Regions from separate parts of the Homo sapiens genome. Here region 1 is linked to region 2. The links are contacts of gene promoters, found by promoter capture Hi-C in blood cells and fetal thymus (Javierre and others, 2016). All regions are on one chromosome and are shown on one strand. The core of a region is centred on a gene start or on the middle of the fragment in contact, and the rest is flanking DNA. Distances in the headings are between cores, read along the strand shown. Region 1 overlaps FGD6 (FYVE, RhoGEF and PH domain containing 6). Region 2 holds the start of NTN4 (netrin 4).

Region 1 (3,790 bases), core at 698-3,197, 680 kb after region 2:
ACTTCTGTGGTTGCAGAAGTTTTTATATTATGTTTATTTAGGTAGGGCTAGAAAGTAAAAATATATTGATAACAAAATCCATTACAAACTCTCTTCATACGACTTGAAGGGCAGGTGCGGTGGCTCACACCTGTAATCCCAGCAGTTTGGGAGGCCGAGGCGGGTAGATCACCTGAGGTCAAGAGTTTGAGACCAGCCTGGCCTACATGGTGAAACCCCTTCTCTACTAAAAAAAATACAAAAACTAGCCAGGTGTGATGGTGCACGTCTGTAATCCCAGCTTCTTGGGAGGCTGAGGCAGGAGAATTGCTTGAACCCGGAAGGCGGAGGTTGCAGTGAGCCGAGATAGCGCCACTGCACTCCAGCCTGGGCGACAGAGCGAGACTCCTTCTCAAAAAAAAAAAAAAAAAAAGACTTGAGGCCTTCCTGGAAACTCCATTTTGAGCAGATTAACATAGAACCAGTTAAGTAGTAAAGCAGTGCTGGGGATAGGTGAGATGATATGGGCAGGGGAGACCCATGGCCAGCCCTGCATGGGAACCAGCCTCTTGCGACTGTGAAGCCAGCGTGGTGGCTGAGGTCAGGAATCTTTGCCCTCCTGTGCTCAGTCACTCTGTGCCCGTGCCATATTCAGTTTCCCTAGAGGTCCATTTCTTTGTCTTTCAAAAACAGGGATTGAACCAGATCTGCAAGGTCCTCAAGCTTCAAAATCATGAGTCCATGAAGTGACTAAACTACAAAGCAGGGATGAGTCTAAAAAAGCATATTATTCTGGCACTGTCTAACAATAGGATATTAGCCTTCCCTCAGCCCTAGTAGTACTTAAGGGAAACAATCCATTACAACATGAGGGACTCATAGCTAGTGGGATAATTGGAGTTCCTGTGTCTGTGTGCCTGTGTCTCTCTCCCTCACAATCTCTCTCCCTCCCTCTCTCGCAGATACACACACATACACACAGATTAATTCTGTTTGGGTGTTTCTGTTTATTCCCAACAACCTCTTTCAAATGTCACAGGTATACCCCTTGTTCTTTTTTTGTTTGAGACAGAGTCTCACTCTGTCACCCAGGCTGGAGTGCAGTGGCACGATATCGGCTCACTGCAACCTCTGCCTCCTGGGTTCAAGCAATTATCCTGCCTCAGCCCCCCAAGTAGCTGGGACTACAGGCATGTACCACCATGCCCGGCTGATTTTTGTATTTTTAGTAGAGATGGGGTTTCACCATATTGGCCAGGCTGGTCTCGAACTCCTGACCTCAAGTGATCTGCCCACCTTGGCTTCCCAAAGTGCTGGGATTACAGATGTGAGCCACCATGCCCAGCAACGCCTGGGTCTAACTGCAGAAACATGTTAAGCAAGTCCATTAATTTTATGAATTTTGATCACATTTTTTTTTTTTAATTTTTTGAGACAGAGTCTTACTTTGTCACCCAGGCTGGAGTGCAGTGGCATGAACACGGCTCACTGCAGCCTCAACCTCCTGGGCTCAAGTAATTCTCTTGCCTCAGCCCTCCAAGTAGTTGGGATTACAGGCACATACCATCACACCCTGCTAATTTTTATATTTTTTGTAGAGACAGGGTTTCACTATCTTGCCCAGGCTGGTCTCGAACTCCTGAGCTCAAGCGATCCACCTGCCTCAGTCTCCCAAAGTGCTGGGATTACAGGCATGAGCCACCACACCTGGCCTGATCACATTCTTGTATATCCTTTACATTTGCAGAGTAAAAAGTGAACATTTTTAACCCTTTTTGTAGAGATTCTTATATATTCTTTTAATCATTTTACTTCTCTTAACATCTTCTGTTTGTGTACATTATGCTTTTAAAGGCGGTTTTTTTTAAAGGAAAAGCTTGTGGTTGGGGATCTGACAAGTTTCCTGTCTTCAGTGATCATATCTAGTTGATGAAGAAGTTTATAATATCCATCAAATAAAGAACAAAGCAAATGACTTCAAAGTAAGGGTGCACCGAGCAGGACAGAATTATTTGGATGACAGAGAAAAGTGTGAAGGTTAAAGAGGCAGGGAAGCTTTGCAGGAAAAAGTAGGACTGGAGATGAGTGGGAGAGTGGGTGAGAGGAAAAATGAGCATTCCCGACGGCAGCCCCTCTCGTGAGGATACAAATTATACATGGAACTTATAGAATAGAAAGAAAACATCTGTCCTGGGTCCTGGGCTTCTGCCTTCAATGAAAGTGAGTTATTAGCTCCATTTTACACATAAAACAAATTCAGGGTCAGAGATTAAGGAGCTTATTTAAAGGAAATTACATGTGACAGCAAAGACATAGATGAGAAAACCAGTGAACAGTGAGGCCCACTGTATGGCCAGAGGCACAGCAATCATATGGTGAGCAGTGGCCGGGCGTGGTGGCTCATGCCTATAATCCCAGCAATTTGGGAGGCCGAGGCAGGTGGGTCACTTGAGGCCAGGAATTCAAGACCAGCCTGGGCAACATGGCAAAACCCTTTGCTACTAAAAATACAAAGATTAGTGGGGCATGGGGGTGCATGCCTGTAATACCAGGTACTCAGTAGCTGAGGCATGAGAATCGCTTGAACCTGGGAGATGGAGGTTGTAGTAAGCCGAGATCCCGCGACTGCACTGTAGCCTGGGCGACAGAGCAAGACTCTGTCTCAGGAAAAAAAGAGTGGTGAGCAGTGTGGATGAGACTTCAAGGGTGAGGGAAGGTGAGGCAAGAATAACTTTGAAAGGTAGGCAGAAGAGTTAAAGGAATAGAGGCATCAGGGCCTCTTAACGGGATGACGTGGGGAAAGTAGAATCACAGCATGGAGTAGGGAAGGTAGAGCTTGGGAGACCAGGTGACCAAGTAGCAGCAGCAGCTTTGTCATCCATTAAATCTTAAGGCATCTCTCCCCTGTCCACCGGGAATTCCAGCAGGCCAGAAAGCAGGAAATGTGTCCACGGTAACCTCTTGAACCTGCTGTGAAAAGGGTACCAGGCACCGTAAATTCTGATACATGGCTGAGTACCGTGGCTCACACCTGTAATCCCAGCACTTTGGGAGGCTGCGGCGGGTGGATCACCTGAGGTCAGGAGTTTGAGACCAGCCCTGCCAACATGGCGAAACCCCGTCTCTACTAAAAATACAAAAATTAGCTGGGCATACTGGTGTGCACCTGTAATGTCAGCTATGCAGGAGACTGAGGCAGGAGAATTGCTTGAATCTGGGAGGCGGAGGTTGAGTAAGCCAAGATCATGCCACTGCACTTCAGCCTGGGAGACAGAGCAAGACTGTCTCAAAAAAAAAAAAAAATTCTGATATATAGTCAGGGTCTCTATATAAGGAAAAACCTGCTTTCCTTTAATAATAGTGATGATGATACATGTGGAAAGAATACAGGCCGGGTGTGGTGGCTCACACCTGTAATCCCAGCACTTTGGGAGGCTGAGGCGGGCGGATCACGAGGTCAGGAGATCAAGACCATCCTGGCTAACACGGTGAAACCCCGTCTCTACTAAAAATACAAAAAATTAGCTGGACGTGGTGGCAGGTGCCTGTAGTCCCAGCTACTTGGGAGGCTGAGGCAGGAGAATGGTGTGAACCCGGGAGGTGGAGCTTGCAGTGAGCCAAGATCGCGCCACTGCACTCCAACCTGGGTGACAGAGCAAGAAAAAAAAAAAGAATACAGAAGCCTCCACGGCTGGTACCAGGAAGACAGTCCTTTGATAGATTACAATAACTGGACCAAAACACCTCAACCCCTTTTCAGAAATTGATTTACTGTTGTTGTTTTTGTTTCGTTTTGTTTTGTTGAGACAGG
Region 2 (3,552 bases), core at 887-3,386:
CAATAGTTTTAACACAACTCAGTCAAAAACATGTAATGAACACTTATTGTAGGTGTTCTTGGCTAAGAATAAGGAAAAATATCAGAAAAACATAGTAATGTTTTGTATAAACTGAATATTAAAGACTGTTCTACCATTAGAGAGCTTTCTGTCTTGTTAAAGGAAATAAGAGCCAGTTATTCAGCAAAGAAATATATTATCAATGCAGGATTCGTGCAGACAGTAAATGGCTTTGAAATTTGTAATGAGATATGGAGTAGTTCTGTGATTGCTTTGGCAGCACATATGCTAAAATTGGAACAATACAGAGAAGATTAGCATGGCCTCTGCATGAGAATGGCATACAAATTTGTGAAGCATTCTATATTTTTAGCAATATATTGTACTCTTGAAAAATGCTAAGACAGTGAGTGTATTCTTAAATGCATGTTAATATGCAAAAATGCATATGTTCATTGGCTAGATTTAGTCATTCCACGCTGTATACATATTTCAAAACATCATGTTGTACATGATAAATACATACAAGTTTATTTGTTAATTAAAAAACAGAAATGGATTAGTTCTGCCTAAATATACTAGACTCAGAAGTTAATAATAAATGTGCATCCACCCCTTTGTTTAATTTGCCTTGGCTATTAAGTTAACATTTATGCTAAGAACCTTTGGCTGTTATAGTTTCCTATCATTTATTTGGTAAAAAGATTAATTGGAGAGGTGTTTCAATGGCTCCATTAGGAGATATGAAGAAAGCCCCACCATTGCCAGTATTTGGGAACTCAAAGCGTTTATTTTCTAAAGCAGGTGATGCTACATGAATTGCTGTCCACACCTTCTGCTACTTTCCTCTGTTGGCCAGAAGAATAATTTTAATGTCGCCCAAATGGATTATGCTGACCTCAACCCAGATCCCCCTGGGAGATATAAACTTCTTATATGTTCCTGGCTGGGTCATTGTAAATAATATCTACATGTATCCCAAAGCTCTGAATTATCCTCATCTGTAACAGACACAACGACTAAATGGTATCTGGAACGTAGTTAATTTTCTGGAAAATATTCAAAGGAACAAAATGAGCACTGCAATACAAAATTGCTGTCGACTTAACTTTTGCCAGTTTCCCTGGATGTGTAAGTAGAATTATATTTTCACAGAACTTGCAAAAATCTCAGACTCGGCTGCTATTTAATCTCTTTCCAGAAGCACCAGCCCTGAGCAATCCTATCTGCAATTAGCTGCGTGTGGTTGCTACTAAATTGCTCCCCATAAGTTAGTTCCTAACACTGTTTCACAGCACGGCATACTCTATAAAGGGAGAACGCTTGGAAGGACCGAAGAGTTCCCTTTGTCGTGCCCTTGCCCTGCCTCTGGACAACGATGTTCTTACACTGCCGACTAGCTAATCCTGTGACCCTTTTCTTTCAGCACCTTGAGTTTGAGTTAGGCAATACCTCTTACACCAAAGTGGGCACACCTTCGGATCATGTAGGCAGCGATTGTTTAGCCGAGACATCCCCCTACCCCCGCAAAAGGCAGCAGAGAAGCGGCGAACGCCGCTTAGCAGTTGGCGCGCTCTCAGTGCGGGTGACGCGGGGCTGGGTTGGGGTGTTCCGTCCCCGGGTCGTGGGACTCCCCGAGAGGGGGTGGCTGGAGGAGGAGGGAGGGCTTGTTTCGCTGGGGGATGTGGGAAGTAGGCGCTAGCCTGTTTCGCGGTTTTTTAAGCCCCTTGGCATGCCCTGACCTGATCTAGAGGGAGTCTACTGCTCTTAGGAATGTTCCGGGAGAAGGTGGGAGATTGCTTCCCAGGGGAGGCCTGTGGGTGCTGCAGGGCACCAGGGGGGTCACTAGGGAGATGCAGGGCGCGGGCCAGGAGGGGCGCCAGGGCAGCCGGGGGCCAGGCTGAGGCGACCGGGACCAGCGGGCAGCCGGGCGTCGGGGGCGTCGGTCGGGGCGCGGGGGACCCCCCCCCCGGGCGGCAGCGGCAGCGGCGATCCGATCCCGCGGGCTGCGCCGCCCGGGCTGTCAAGCGCGGGGGGCGGGCGGGAGGAAGGGGTGGAGGTGCGAGGGGAGGAGGGCTGGCACCGGAGCGCCGCGGCGTCGGTGCAATAAAAATGCATCGCATGGAACTGCCCGTGGAGAAGGACGGGACGGAGCCGGGGCAGCCAGAAGAGGTGGGAAAAGCGGAGGAGGACGCCCAGGAGGAGGCGGCGGCGGCGGCCGGGAAGTGAAAGGTCTCGCAAAGTTCAGCGGCGGCTGCGGGCGCCGAGCCCCGGGCTAGCGGCAGACGAGCCCGCAGGGCCGCTCCGCGGGGCAGCGCAGCCAGGCCGGCTATGGTCCCGGGGCTCCCGCCGCCCCCCAGGTGCCCGGGACCCGCCAGGCCGGTGCGCGAGGGTCACCCCACCTCCCCGCGCGGTCCCGGCCCCTGGCTCCCAGCTGCCGGCGACCGCTGACCGAGCCCGGCGCCCCAGGAGGAGGAAGAAACCAGGGCCCCGTTCCCTCCCGAGGACGGCGGCGCTTCATCCCGCAGCCCAGAGGTCTCGGCTCCCTCCGGCACCCGCCCGGCCCGGCTGCTCCCGGCTCCTCCCGGCCATGGGGAGCTGCGCGCGGCTGCTGCTGCTCTGGGGCTGCACGGTGGTGGCCGCAGGTGGGTGGTGACGCGGCGGGGCCCCCACCCCTTCCCTCGCTGCTTCTCTAACCCATCTCGGGACTCGGGGGTGCAGGGGAGCCAGGGCTGCGAGCGCAGAGCGCTGCTCCCGAGGGTGAAATGAGTGGCCATGTTCCGCCTCCTTTCCCCGGGGCTCCGCAGTTTCAAATACTATTGATTTATTTTTACAACTGGGATACACATGCGCTTGGATAACCAGCTATCCTGGGTGCGCCCTGCCGGGGATACTGCGACCGGGGTTTCTTTCTTGGTTTGGCTTGTTAAAAAACTGCTTTTCCACTTGGTGAGGGAACAAAGGACCCAGCTCGCCATCCCCCGGCACTTCATGGCCTAAGGAATGATGAGGAGGGGTGGCCCAGCGACCCTGGGCGCGCGTGGGCTGGGGCCGGTCTCTGGTAGAAGCCCATCGCTGGTGTCCCTGACCTGGTGCTGGGTACTAGAGAACCAGGTAAGGACACCTGGGGCAGGGCTGAGCGCCCTCTCCCCGGAGCAGTGACTGGAACGCAGTGGGACTCCTGGCTTGGACGATAGGTGGTGATCACCCCGGGCTTGCATTGAGCTGGCTGGCCGCCCCTGGGGAATTGGTACCCTGGCAGAGACTCTGCGGGAGGTCGGAGGCGGGTCTGCTCCCTGGCTCGGTAACTGGACAACCGGCGTCGGCGTCGGCAGATGCCCTCTCCCTCCCACTCCCATCCTGGCTTTCTTGGGCTGCCCTAGGCCACCGGCTCCTGGCTCGTGGTTTCTGTATTCGGGAGCCCCTTCTGCTCCTCTCCCTCCCTCTTGCGGGTCACCTGGTTTCCAGTTAGGCGTAAGCGCAGCCCTGTAGGTGAGGGGGAGAGATGTGAGGGAGTCTGCAGACATCCAGTCTCTCGTGCGGATCTTGACT

What was found. The method cuts DNA at HindIII sites, captures the fragments that hold promoters and counts their contacts. A CHiCAGO score of 5 or more calls a contact.
Region 1: a fragment that was not itself captured here is called in contact with the fragment with the promoter of NTN4 in region 2 in 1 of 17 cell types (naive CD4 T cells); the score reaches 5.2 in naive CD4 T cells.

Annotation. Positions count from the first base shown.
Region 1 is chr12:95,109,854-95,113,643 of GRCh38, reverse strand. The region is part of intron 9 of FGD6 (FYVE, RhoGEF and PH domain containing 6); the gene reads left to right. Among named protein-coding and RNA genes, the nearest start is that of NR2C1, 38 kb to the right of the region's middle. The HindIII fragment of the contact is 179 bases long and covers 1,858-2,036 here.
Region 2 is chr12:95,789,348-95,792,899 of GRCh38, reverse strand. It overlaps NTN4 (netrin 4), which reads left to right and starts at 2,136. Exons shown (of 10, transcript NM_021229.4): 1 at 2,136-2,645. The coding sequence starts at 2,591. It also overlaps the pseudogene RNU6-247P. The HindIII fragment of the contact is 5,039 bases long and covers 1-3,552 here.